5 separate regions of the Homo sapiens genome follow, and all the other regions are linked to region 1. The links are contacts of gene promoters, found by promoter capture Hi-C in human tissues and cell types (Jung and others, 2019). All regions are on one chromosome and are shown on one strand. The core of a region is centred on a gene start or on the middle of the fragment in contact, and the rest is flanking DNA. Distances in the headings are between cores, read along the strand shown. Region 1 holds the start of RELT (RELT TNF receptor). Region 2 overlaps PAAF1 (proteasomal ATPase associated factor 1). Region 3 holds the start of MRPL48 (mitochondrial ribosomal protein L48). Region 4 holds the start of RAB6A (RAB6A, member RAS oncogene family). Region 5 overlaps RAB6A (RAB6A, member RAS oncogene family).

Evidence for each region. The method cuts DNA at HindIII sites, captures the fragments that hold promoters and counts their contacts. A contact is called where the count stands out against the background at its distance.
Region 2: a fragment that was not itself captured here is called in contact with the fragment with the promoter of RELT in region 1 in 1 of the 25 tissues and cell types used here (thymus).
Region 3: the fragment with the promoter of MRPL48 here is called in contact with the fragment with the promoter of RELT in region 1 in 1 of the 25 tissues and cell types used here (IMR-90 fibroblasts).
Region 4: the fragment with the promoter of RAB6A here is called in contact with the fragment with the promoter of RELT in region 1 in 1 of the 25 tissues and cell types used here (mesenchymal stem cells).
Region 5: a fragment that was not itself captured here is called in contact with the fragment with the promoter of RELT in region 1 in 3 of the 25 tissues and cell types used here (H1 embryonic stem cells, dorsolateral prefrontal cortex and lymphoblastoid cells).

The regions. Positions count from the first base shown.
Region 1 is chr11:73,375,138-73,377,656 of GRCh38, reverse strand. It overlaps RELT (RELT TNF receptor), which reads right to left and starts at 1,258. Exons shown (of 11, transcript NM_152222.2): 1 at 1,158-1,258. RefSeq lists an enhancer at 279-573 and silencers at 739-818, 909-1,198, 1,229-1,538. The HindIII fragment of the contact is 25,019 bases long and covers 1-2,519 here.
Region 2 is chr11:73,883,973-73,886,491 of GRCh38, reverse strand. All of the region lies in intron 2 of PAAF1 (proteasomal ATPase associated factor 1), which reads right to left. Among named protein-coding and RNA genes, the nearest start is that of PAAF1, 8.2 kb to the right of the region's middle. The HindIII fragment of the contact is 5,400 bases long and covers 1-2,519 here.
Region 3 is chr11:73,786,612-73,789,130 of GRCh38, reverse strand. MRPL48 (mitochondrial ribosomal protein L48) reads right to left here and starts at 1,257. Exons shown (of 8, transcript NM_016055.6): 1 at 1,139-1,257. The coding sequence starts at 1,159. RefSeq lists enhancers at 1,044-1,123, 1,264-1,323. The HindIII fragment of the contact is 15,089 bases long and covers 1-2,519 here.
Region 4 is chr11:73,759,810-73,762,328 of GRCh38, reverse strand. It overlaps RAB6A (RAB6A, member RAS oncogene family), which reads left to right and starts at 1,255. Exons shown (of 8, transcript NM_198896.2): 1 at 1,255-1,763. The coding sequence starts at 1,694. It overlaps LOC124902711 (a long non-coding RNA gene), which reads right to left and starts at 1,171. Exons shown (of 2, transcript XR_007062775.1): 1 at 1,089-1,171; 2 at 1-592. RefSeq lists silencers at 648-837, 998-1,307 and an enhancer at 1,604-2,104. The HindIII fragment of the contact is 11,651 bases long and covers 1-2,519 here.
Region 5 is chr11:73,696,798-73,699,316 of GRCh38, reverse strand. All of the region lies in intron 6 of RAB6A (RAB6A, member RAS oncogene family), which reads left to right. Among named protein-coding and RNA genes, the nearest start is that of PLEKHB1, 51 kb to the right of the region's middle. The HindIII fragment of the contact is 4,915 bases long and covers 1-2,519 here.

The sequences.
Region 1 (2,519 bases), core at 9-2,508:
CCGCTGAGAATACAGATTACACAGGGGCAGAACTTTGCCAGGTGTAGGGACTTCGATGCGTGAGTGTGTGGATGCAGGTGGGCGGGGGGAAGCTGAGACTACCACAGGGCCCCTACCCTGCTGCCATCTGGGCCACCCCACCAGATGTTGCCCAGCCTCGGCTTTCTCCCTCAGCCAGGGCCTATCCCTCAGGGTCCATCTCCTCACCAAGCTGAACTCCTGAGGGGTGCCCTCGTGGGGACAGTCCTGGAGACCCTTGTCTCCTGGCTCCCCAACTTCCTCATCGCCCCACATCTGCCGGAAGGTGTCCTAGGTCCGGTCCCTCCTCCTCCTGCCTCTTACTCATCATCACCCTAGGCGCAGACACACACACACACACACACACACTGACACCACTTGACCCCACACGCACACCATGGCGCCAGCGAGCTCGGCTCGTTCTCAGTCACTTGGGCTCCTCTCCCTCTATTTCACACTCACAGTAACGGGTGGCCCTGGCCCTGCGCCGGTCACGCCCCAAGCCACGCACTTCGTGACCCCAGTGACCCCGGGTCTTTCCCTCACACAACACACGCACACACGCTGCCTGTCTCCCACACACAGAGCCCCTCTGTGTCGCCCGCTCGGCCCGGCGTCACCGCCCAGTGTCCCAGCCACACGTTCGCCCGGCCAGGCCGCCTCACGCGCCGTGTCACCCACAGTCACGGGCTGACACCATCCAGACCCCCCCTTGGCCGCCCCGCGCCGCAGCCGCGCCGAGGCGCCGCCGTCCAGCCCGCACCACAACCTGGTCTCGGTCCAAGTTTCCCGGGCCGGGGACCGCTCCGGGCCCCGCCGGCCCCTCACACCGCAAGTTCCGCTGCTTCCCCGCGCGCCCCCCGACAGCCACCACGCAGGGCCGGCCCGGAGTCGCGGCCGGAGGACCTGCAGGTCACGGGGCTCGGAGACTGGCGGTGGCCGGTGCGCGGAAGGCGCCGGGACAGGACGCGAGGCGGGAGGAGTGGGGTGGGGGGGCGCGCGGCCGGGCTGCCGCATCCGCCGAGCCCGCGAACTTCCTCAGAGACACGGGGAGGCAGGGGGCGCCACTAGGGTCCGTATCCCGCTGGCCCGGCCGCGGAGAGCAGACTCTGGATGGGCGCTCCGCGCGCCCTCCTTACCTGGCTGCGCCGCGGCAGCTCCAGCTCGGCTCCCCGTTCGACTCGGCGCCGCGGCCCGGCTCGGCGAGCGCCCGGACAGCCGCGCAGCCTGCGCGCCTTTTGAATGAATCGCCGGCTGGGCCGGGAAGGTGCGCAGACCCGCCCCCGCGCGTCACGGCCGCTCCGCCCCCGACGTCAGAGCGCGGTCTGCGCCCCGCGCCCGACTCACCCCGAGCCGCGGAGGGGCTCGCCGCTCTGCCGCTGGGCGGTGCTGCTCTACGTCGCCCTCTCTCGCGCCCCTGGGAACTGCAGGGGGCTGCGCGGGACTGGGCGGCGGTGCCCAGAGGGCCTCTTGTATCCGCCTCTTCAAGGCTCTGAACCAAGCAAGGAGTTGTGCGAAGCAAGATAAAGAGACTGGAGACTGAGATACTCCTCTGGGTCCTCTCAGCATTGCCAGTGTAACTAGAGCCACCTCTGCCCCTTTCTGGGCTTCATCTTCCTCCTGCCAGTTGGTGGCCAGGAAGAATAACCTCACTTTGCTTTGTTGACGAGGCCCAGGCCCAACCCTGGAAACCCTCACCTAGTTGGCGAAAAGGCCTGGTGAAGGTGAGTCTATAAAGGAAGCCCACACGGTGGGCTTCGGCACATCCTTCAAGGCCTAGTGAAATCCTCCAGGAGGCGTCTCCTGCCTCCACTCCCCTACTCCCCGCACCACTTCTCTGTGCCAGGGTAGTTAGTTTCCCTCCAGCAGGACAGGTGACTCAGTGCCCCCCTCCCTACTACAGCCATCCCACCCTGCCAGTTTCCAATGCCAGTCATCACAAACTCCAGGCAGTATTCACACTGTATTCCGACTCCGAATCGTGTCCCCTGGAGTTGTGCTACAGGGTGTGCCAGGACTGGAGGGAGCAGCTCAGTGGCCCGTTCCCCCTCTCAGTACTATTCAGGGGATCTCAGGCGGTCCTCCTGGGACAGTAGGGCTGATGGGAGACTGAGACACCAGGGAGGACCTAGTGCTGGGCCAGAGGCCTGGCTGGGGTCAGGATAATCACAGCCCATGACAGAGATGGAGAAAGGAAGGTAAATAAGTCAGCTGGGGATAGATGGCTGGGGGTGGGGTTCTAAACAGTCATAGAATCTGAACCCAGGGGCTAGGAGACGGAAAAGGTCAGGTCCCCAGGGTCCAGGAGATTCCAGGAGGCGAACTGGACACCGCATGGGGAGGGGAGCAGGGGATGAGTTTTCATTTCCCTGGGTCATGCTCAGGTTGTGGGGGAAGGGCATAAGGAGCTACAGGTCATTGATGTCAGGATCATGACATCAGCACCCTCATATGTCAATGGAGACCTCCAGGGCTGGGGCAGGGGTTCTTCCAGGGTCCCA
Region 2 (2,519 bases), core at 6-2,505, 510 kb before region 1:
ATGTTAGCCAGAATGGACTCGATCTCCTGACCTCGTGATCCACTCGCCTCAGCCTCCCACAGTGCTGGGATTACAGGCGTGAGCCACCGCGCCTGGCCTGACTAAAATACATTTTCAAGACTAAAAGCTAAGAACAAAGATTTAGAGATTTGATACAGCATTTGTAGAGAGGGCTTTTAGAGTGATCTCAACCTGATGTAACTGGCTGTGAAATGTAATTCTTCCAGGATGAAAGGTGAAGATCAGTATGCATACATGTATTTATCTACAGTATATACACATAATACATAGTAAAGAATTAAGCTTCAGTAACCTGTAAAATTTGCCTAAGTAGAATACTGATTTTGCAGAGATATGGGCTAAGTAAGATACTATCCTACACATAAACACACGCAGATGATAGAATGAAGTTAAAAACTGTTTCCATTCTTCTTCTACACCTTATATATTCATGTCTATAACAGCCCATAACACACTGTTTACATGTCTGACTTGCCCAACAGACTGTGAAGTCCTTAAGTCTAGCAGGGTGCTACATTCATTTATTATTCAGTAAATAAATGTTGAGCCAAACTGAAGTTACAGGAGAGAAGCAGAAATCATCATGGATTCACACAAGAGTGGGAGGGATTTTTTTTTTTTTTTTTTTGAGATGGAGTTTCACTCTTGTCGCCCAGGCTGGAGTACAATGGCGTGATCTCAGCTCACTGCAACCTCCACCTCCTGGGTTCAAGCAGTTCTCATGACTCAGCCTCCCAAGTACCTGGGATTAAAGGCACGTGCCACCACACCTGGCTAATTTTTGTATTTTTAGTAGAGACGGGGTTTCACCATATTGGCCAGGCTGGTCTTGAGCTCCTCCCCTCAGGTGATCCACCCACCTCAACCTCCCGAAGTGCTGGGATTACAGGTGTGAGCCACCACGACCAGGCCGGGAGGGCTTTCTAGAGAGTATAGGAGCCTCAAAGAAAGATAGGAGCTGGCTAGGAAGAAAATAGGGAAAAGAAAACTCCAAGTCAAGGAGGAGCATATCAAGAATAAAAGAAAGTCAGCCGGGCATGGTGGCTCACACCTGTAATCTCAGCACTTTGGGAGCCCAAGGTGGGTGGATCACAAGGTCAGGAGTTCAAGACCAGCCTGGCCAACATAGTGAAACCTCTTCTCTACTAAAAATACAAAAATTAGCCAGGTGTGGTGGCACGTGCCTGTAGTCCCAGCTATGATACTCAGGAGGCTGAAGCAGGAGAATACCTTGAACCTGGCAAGCAGAGGTTGCAGTGAGCCGAGACCACGCCATTGCACTCCAGCCTGGGTGACAGAGTGAGACTCCATCTCAAAAAAAAAGAATATCACGCCTGTAATCCCAGCACTTTGGGAGGCCGAGGCGGGTGGATCACGAGGTCAGGAGATCGAGACCATCCCGGCTAAAACGGTGAAACCCCGTCTCTACTAAAAATACAAAAAATTAGCCGGGCGTAGTGGCGGGCGCCTGTAGTCCCAGCTACTTGGGAGGCTGAGGCAGGAGAATGGCGTGAACCCGGGAGGCGGAACTTGCAGTGAGCCGAGATCCCGCCACTGCACTCCAGCCTGGGCGACAGAGCGAGACTCCGTCTCAAAAAAAAAAAAAAGAATAAAAGAAAGTCAAAAAGAACAAGAAGGAAGGATTCATCAATTAATACACCAGTTTGGTAATAGCAGTCATGGAAATGATAGTTGAGGGATAAATCCCAGAGAAACTCAAAGTCTAGGGTAGAAGTTTGGCCTAGAGAAGACCTAGTAAAGACGCTTTTCACAGGGAAGTATCATGAAGCACTATTTCAGAAAGATGCCACAAAAACAGAACTGAAGCAACTTCACTTTTTATCCCACTCCATGATTCCCTATTGTGTTTACCAACTGCCTTAAGAAGTCTGGCCCTCATGGTGCATCATTTCAACCAATCACTCAATGACTTCTCCACATTTGTGGATGTATATATATGTATTTTTTTAATATTTGAGACAGGGTCTCGCTCTGTCACCCAGGCTGGAGTGCAGTGGTATGATCATGGTTCACTGCAGCCTCTATCTCCCAGAATCAAGGGATTCTCCCGCCTCAGCTTCCTGAGTAGCCTGCATGCCACCATGCCCAGCTATTTTTTTTATTTTTATTTTTAGTAGAGACAGAGTCTCACTATGTTGCTCAGACTGGTCTCGAACTGCTGGGCTCAAGCAATCCTTCTGCCTCAGCCTCCCAAAGTGCTTGGATTACAGGGTGAGTTACCCTGCCCAGCTGACTTCTCTACATTTGTGAAGTCACTAAAATGACCTCAGCCTTGGTTTTCTCTATATAATAGCAGAACTAGGATCAATCCAACCACTTACCTTCTACATTCCTACATGCAGGCTGCTGAGTACTGCTCCAGAAAAGAACACAACTGTGCCGACTGTCACCAATCCAATTCATGTTTCTAAACTCAGCAGTTTTGTAATCCTTTCACCCCTCCCATTCCCCACAGCAGCTGGTTCTCATGCCATCTA
Region 3 (2,519 bases), core at 8-2,507, 410 kb before region 1:
ACTGGCTAAGGTGAACAAGTGAATTGTTTCATAAAGGATGAAGTGAGGCGTGGGCCCTCACACATTCAAGGGCAGCCCCAAGGTAACCACAGGTAGACCCATGAGCTGCAACGACCATGCTGACCTATGAATCATGGAAATATAGTTGCCACAATTAATGCCTAAAACAAAATTTTAATATAAATTGCTAAAATGAGTCATTAATCTAAGCAGCATGATACAATTGAAAGAGCACAAATGAAATCTGTTAAATCTGTTAAGGGAACGGGAGAAAGCCCAGGAACACATTTATAGTGGTTCATACGGTTTTATGACAGTCACTTAAATAAGGTTTTGGAAACGAAAATGTTGTTAATTATTGCAGGGCGCGGTGGCTCATGCCTGTAATCCCGGCACTTTGGGAGGCCGAGGCGGGCAGATCACGTGGTCAGGAATTCGAGACCAGCCTGGCCAACACAGTGAAACCCCGTCTCTACTAAAAATACAAAAATTAGCCCGGCATGGTGTCCCGCGCCTGTAGTCCCAGCTACTGAGGAGGCTGAGGCAGGAGAATCGCTTGAACCCGGAAGGCGAAGGTTGTGGTGAGCCGGGATCGCACCACTGCACTCCAGCCTGGGCAACAGAGCGAAATCCGTCAAAAAAAAAAAAAAAAAAAAAAGAAAGAAAAGAACAAAAACCTAGTTTATTACTGCTGTTTCCTTATTACCAGGTAGCTTCACATCCTCATCAGTTCAGCAAGTCAAAACTGCATTCTTAGAAAAAATTCTGGAAGTTGATAACTGAATGCAAATATAAAATGACCTGCCCAAGGTCACACAGTTAATCGGGACCGTATCCTGGTGTCGTGATTCCCATCGCAGAGCTCTCCCTTTTCCAGAAACTGGGTGGAGAGAGTGGCATGTGGTGTGGGCGTGGCACGGGTCGGCTCGGCAGAGTTCGCCCCGGGTGGAAAGGAATCTGCTCAGCCCCTTCAACGCCAGGCAGCCGCATGTGCTGCTGGGAAGGACCTTGGGCGCCCCAGTGTCTCATCCCCGGATGTCCGCGCGCCGCCACCTCCCCGCTCTGCACCCTCCGCCATCTCCCCTCTCTGCACCGTCCGCCATCTCCCCGCGCCCCGCGTGCGTGGAATCTACGTTACCTTTTCCAAGGTTCCGCTCATCCTTTGCTGCTGCGCGGCCTCTAGCTGTGCAAACCGAAGACCGGACCCTGCAGCCGCGTTCCCAGGGCGTCTGAAAACACTGAAGGAACGGCCTTGACCAGGTGCAGCAGCAATATCCCACCGAGACTCACTCAACTTCCACATCATTTTAGTTCCGGAAGCTTCTGAAATTCAGAGTCTAGAAATTCTCCTGCTTTCCACCCTCACTCAGGTTGTCACATTCACTGCTGTTTCTCCAGAAAGAATTAATTACCATCTCTGTGTTACCCCAGTACTTAGCACACAATTCTAATTTTTCGCTTACAATATTATACACTAATGATTTGTTACCACCTCTTCTCTGTATTTGAAAGTTCTTAAAAGACTGAGATCCTGTCTGATTAATTCCTTTCAGCGTCTAGCACAGATCTGACTTTTTTGTTTGTTTGAGACGGAGTCTCGCTCTGTTGCGCAGGCTGGAGTGTAGTGGCACGATCTCAGCTCACTGCCACCTCCGCCTCTCGGGTTCAAGCAATTCTGTCTCCAAGTAGCTGGGATTACAGGTGCCCGCCACCACGCCCGCCTAATTTTTATATTTTTACTAGAGATGAGGTTTCTCCATGTTTGTCAGGCTGGTCTTGAACTCCCGACCTCAGGTGATCCGCCCGCCTCGGCCTCCTAAAGTGCTGGGATTACAAGCGTGAGCCACCAGGCCCAGCCAATCATCTCTTAAATTGAGTTTAGAAGTCAGATTTCCACGTCCTGTGCTAGATGCTGGAATAAATTAGTCAGGATCTCAGTCCTTGAGGAACTCAATCAAAATAATAGCAAAAAATAATTAGTATCTAGTAACAAATAATTAGTATCTAGTATGGTAAGTGAAATACCAGAATTGTGTGCAAAGTACTGAGGTAACACAGATACGACAATTAATTATGCTTGGAAATATAATGGACCAGGCATACCTCCTCCAGTACAGTGATTGATTATTGCCTAATAAATGCTATTGGGGTTTTAGAAGTGAAATTTTAAATAAGAAAAAAAAAATCAATCAAATGCTAGTATGTGCCAGGTCGGTTCTTTATGGGTGTATGGGTTCATTTAGTCTTTCCAATAACCCTATGAGGCTGAGGATCATTATACCCATTTCACAGATGAGGAACAGAGACAGGAAGAAGGTACCTAGTTAACATAATGTTATATAAGTGGTGAGCTGTTTCATTTCCGTGCCTGTGCTTCATCTATTTTATGGGACTGTGACTATAGGTTTGCAAAAGGGCAGGTTGGCAGCCAGAGAGTTTCTTTCCTTGTCTAGTCCAGGTAAATACAATCTAATAAGATACATGGCCGGGTGCGGTGGCTCATGCCTGTAATCCCAGCA
Region 4 (2,519 bases), core at 6-2,505, 380 kb before region 1:
TCAGCCTCCCAAGTAGCTGGGATTACAGGCACCCGCCACCACACCACGTTAATTTTTTGTATTTTTAGTAGAGATGGGGTTTCATCATGTTGGCCAAGGCTGGTCTGGAACTCCTGACGTCAGGTGATCCACCCAACTCAGCCTTCCAAAGTGCTGGGATTACAGGGATGAGCCACCACGCCCGGCTTTTTTTTTTTTTTTTTTTTTTTTTTTCTGTTGAGATGGAGTCTCGCTCTGTCGCCAGGCTGGAGTGCAGTGGTGTGATCTCGGCTCACTGCAACCTCCGCCTCCCGGGTTCAAGCGATTCTCCTGCCTCAGCTTCCCGAGTAGCTGGGACTACAGGCGCGCGCCACCACCCCCAGCTAATTTTTGCATTTTTAGTAGAGACAGGGTTTCACCATGTTGGCCAGGATGGTCTCGATCTCTTGACCTCGTGATCCACTCGCCTCCGCCTCCCAAAGTGCTGGGATTACAGCCGTGGGCCACCGCGCCCAGCCCGCTTTATGGATTTTGCAAGTCATTTACTCCCTCTAAGCTTCAGTTTCCTCATCTGCAAAATTGGGAGGCCATGATTCTGGCAGTTATAACATTCCTGGGAGCAATGGAGGAGAATGTTATTTAGTAAGATGCCTGTGAGGAATTATGATGAGAGGATGGAGAAGGTGGGGTGTGTGCAATGGTGAAGAAGGGATCTGAGGACTGTGAGGCACGGCTGAGGGCTCAGGAAAGAGGCTCCCATTACAAATTTTAAGGCTATAGGACCCCACCCACACTTTTTGGGGGATCATATTCCACCTTTGTCCCGGCCCCGCCTCCGCCCCACCCTTCTCCCCCTCCCCTTTCTTTCCTTCCCCTCCCCTCAGGCTGAGAGGCGCCACACTTCTTATGGCCGCCACAGTGCTCCGCTTTCCACAGCTCGAGGGCTGCGCGCGCTCTCACGCTGCCACCTCACTCGCGTGTGGGCTCGCCCTCAGCCCCTTCCGATTGGCTCATTATGTAAGTGACGTAAGGGCTCCAGCCTCCCACTAACTTATCCCTGGCTTGCCCCGCCTCCTCCTGGCTTCTTTTGACGCCAGTGGAAACCTAACCTGCCCCGTCGCCGCCGTGCGGGAGGAGCCGGTAGAGCTGTCCAAACCAGGAAGGCGATGGCGATGGCGGTGGCGCGCACGCATGCACGCACGCACGCACGCCAGCGGCCGGCGGGGCCGCAGGCTCGCGCCCGGGCTCGCCCCGCGCCGCTCCAGAGGCTCGCGCACTCAGCAGGTTGGGCTGCGGCGGCGGCGGCAGCTGTGGAAGCTCAGGCGCTGCGCGTGAGAGGTCCCAGATACGTCTGCGGTTCCGGCTCCGCCACCCTCAGCTTCTCTTCCCCAGGTCTGGGAGCCGAGTGCGGAAGGAGGGAACGGCCCTAGCTTTGGGAAGCCAGAGGACACCCCTGGCTCCTGCCGACACCGCCCTCCTTCCCTTCCCAGCCGCGGGCCTCGCTCGGTGCTAGGCTACTCTGCCGGGAGGCGGCGGCGGCTGCCAGTCTGTGGAGAGTCCTGCTGCCCTCCAGCCGGGCTCCTCCACCGGGCCTTGCAGGGGCCGAGAGAGCTCGGTGCCCGCCCTTCCGCTCGCCTTTTTCGTCAGCTGGCTGGAGCAGCATCGGTCCGGGAGGTCTCTAGGCTGAGGCGGCGGCCGCTCCTCTAGTTCCACAATGTCCACGGGCGGAGACTTCGGGAATCCGCTGAGGAAATTCAAGCTGGTGTTCCTGGGGGAGCAAAGCGGTGAGTGCGTGGCTCCCCTACTCCTGGCAGCTGGCCGCAGCGTCCCCGCACCGCCCCCGGTGCGGCCCTTCCGTCCGCGGAGGCTCCCTGCCCGCCTCGCGTCCGCGCTCGTTGCCACCGCAGCCCTTCCCGATGTGCCCCCCGGTGCCACTGGCTCTTCGCCAGTGGCCGAGTTTTTACCCTGTTCCCCGGGTTCTTCAATCCTCGACTCCCCGGCTCCGTTCCCCGCAGTCCGGCCATCTCCGGTCGATCTGCCCTCCCTCCCCAGACCTCACCCCGCCCAGCCTCTTGTCCATCCCTTTCTTCCTCCGGTCTCGGTCATTGCCCGTACCCCGGCCCCCTTTCTTGAGCCCCACCCTTATTCCTTGCTCTTTTCCCAGTTCCTCAGCTCTGTGAGGCCCACTCAGGGAAGCCCCACTCCCGAGAGCGGGCCCTCTTCAACCTTGGCCAAGGAGGGTGGGATCTGGGCGTTGTTTTCCCCAGAGGCTTGGCCCTGCGAAGTGCTGATGTCGTGGAAGGTGGGAAGGGGTGGTAGTAGAAAAAATTAAATGATTTTCACCTGGGTGGGAAATTAGTCTGGGCCATAGAGGAAACATCTGAATTGGAGACGACTTGAGCATGGGGTGGTTGGGGGTGAAAGGGGTAGCGTCGGCAGTGGAGATTTTTGCCCCTTAGGTTAGATGGGGCTGTGGCTTGTCGGAAAACCTCATTTTGTTCTCTTGACTTTCATCACTGACAATTCTTTTGGCAATGTTG
Region 5 (2,519 bases), core at 8-2,507, 320 kb before region 1:
ACTGCACTCCAGCCTGGATGACAGAGCAAGACCCTTGATTCAAAAAAATTAAAAAGGAGAGAAGCAAAACGAATGCTGGCACAAAGAGGTTTATTGACTAATTGAATGATATCACATATAGTTAGAATGGTTGAGGAATGCTTTGTTTAAAAAACAGCATTATCGGCCTGGCGCAGTGGCTCAAACATGTAATCCCAGCACCTTGGGAGGCCAAGGTGGGTGAATCACCGGAGGTCAGGAGTTCGAGACCAGCCTGACCAACATGGTGAAACTCTGTCTCTACTAAAAATACAAAAAATTAGCTGGGTGTGGTGGCGGGCGCCTGTAATCCCAGCTACTGGGAAGGCTGAGGCAGGAGAATCACTTGAACCTGGGAGGCGGAGGTTGGAGTGACCTGAGATTGTGCCATTGCATTACAGCCTGGGCGACAGAGCAAGACTCCATCTCAAAAAAAAAAAAAAAAAAAATCGCAAAAAAAGTATCTGAGCTGAACTGAGTGTACTTGATTTGGATAGGTAACTGGGGATGCTTCTAGGAAGAAGAAAAATTAACATATGTATGATACAAGACTACCTAGCACACATAGTGTAAATACTATGCCATGAACGTTCACTTAAAATCTTTCATATTGCCTTCCTAGCAAGCACTTTATATACAATATCTAGGTGCTTAGATACTTGTCGAATACAAGAAGGAATCTATGTAACAATCCTACGAGTCAACTGCTATTGTTGGTCTGATTTTAGAGAGAAAATCTGAAGCGTAGAAATTATATAACTTTCCTAGAATTGCCTAAATACTATCTGCTAGATCCATTTAATGTACCAAGTGTTTAACTTAATTCTCACAATATCCCTATGAAGTAGATAAGTATATTCATTTCACTGATATGAAACCAAAGTTTTAGAGGCCAAGTAACTTGCTTAAGATTATAACTTAAACTGCAATGTGAGCCCAGGTCTATTTAGTTCCAAAATCTGAGATCTTAAGCCTTATATTCTGCCTCTCTCAAATTTAACCTCACCCCAATTTATCCTTTTGTGTTTCATATCCTTAACACAGTAGGACTTTATTTTTTATTTTTATTTATTTATTTTTTTGAGAGTCTCACTCTGTCACCCAGGCTGGAGTGCAGTGGCACAATCTCGGCTCACTGCAATCTCTGCCTCCAGGGTTCAAGTGATTCTCCTACCTCAGCCTACTGAATAGCTGGGATTATAGGCATGCTCCACCTCGCCTGGCTAATTTTTGTATTTTTTAGTAGAGATGGAGTTTTGCCATGTTGGCCAGGCTGGTCTTGAACTCCTGACCTCAGGTGATCTGCCCACCTTGGCCTCCCAAAGTGCTGGGGTTACAGGCGTGAGCCACCATGCCCAGCCCACAGTAGGACTTCAGTATAACTGAATGGTCAGAAATCTATATGTATAATGAATATGAACTGACAGAGAAATTATATTGATCAGGTTTTATTCAGTCATTAATTAACTCAGATATTTGTTGATCACCTCCTGCATGCCTAGTTATGTTATAGGCACTGGGGATACAATAATGGAACAAAATACCTAAGTCTGTGCCATTATGGAGCTTACATTCTGGTATGGAGAGTTAGACAATTAGTGAAATATAATCCTTAAGGAGGTTATAGATTCTATAGAGAAAAATGAAGTAGGGGCCAGGCACAGTGGCTCATGCCTGTAATCCCAGTGTTTTGGGAGACTGAAGCAGGCAGATCACTTGAGGCCAGGAGTTCAAGATCAGCCTGGCCAACATAGTGAAACCCGTCTCTACTAAAAATACGAAAATCAGCCGAGTGTGGTGGTGCTCACCTGTAATCCCAGCTACTTAGAAGGCTGAAGCACAAGAATCACTTGAACCTGGGTGGTGGAGGTTGCAGTGAGGCGGAGGTTGCAGTGAGCCGAGACCATGCCACTGCACTCCAGTCTGGGAGACAGAGTGAGACTGTTTCAAAAAGAAAAAAAAAGAAAAGAAAAACAGAAAAATAAAGTAGGGTAAGAAGGATAAAGAATACTGGTGAAGGGAATTATGATATATTGATGTCTTATAAAAGGAGGGAAAGCCTGTCTGATAAGGTGATATTTGAGCAAAGAACTGAAGGAATTGAGAAAGTGAGCCATTTATACATCCAGGGAAGAGCATGCCAAGCTTCAAGTGCAGTGACAAATTCAAAGGAACTTGTCATGTTTAAGGAATAGTAAGGAAATTAGTAAGGTTACACTAGAGTGAAGGAAGGGGCATATGATAAGAAAAGAGCTCACAGAGATAGTTATGGAGAACAGAGGCCTTAAGACCATGTGGGCAGTAGTGAGGATTTGGCATTTTATTCCCAGTGAGAGAGGAAGCCATTTTCATGAGAGATTTGACAGGATCTCACTTAAAATTTAAAAGTAATCAGGCCAGGCACGATGGCTCATGCCCGGTAATCCCAGCACCTTGGGAGGCCAAGGTGGGAGGACTGCTTGAACCCTGGAGTTCAAGACTAGCCTGGGCAACATAGGGAG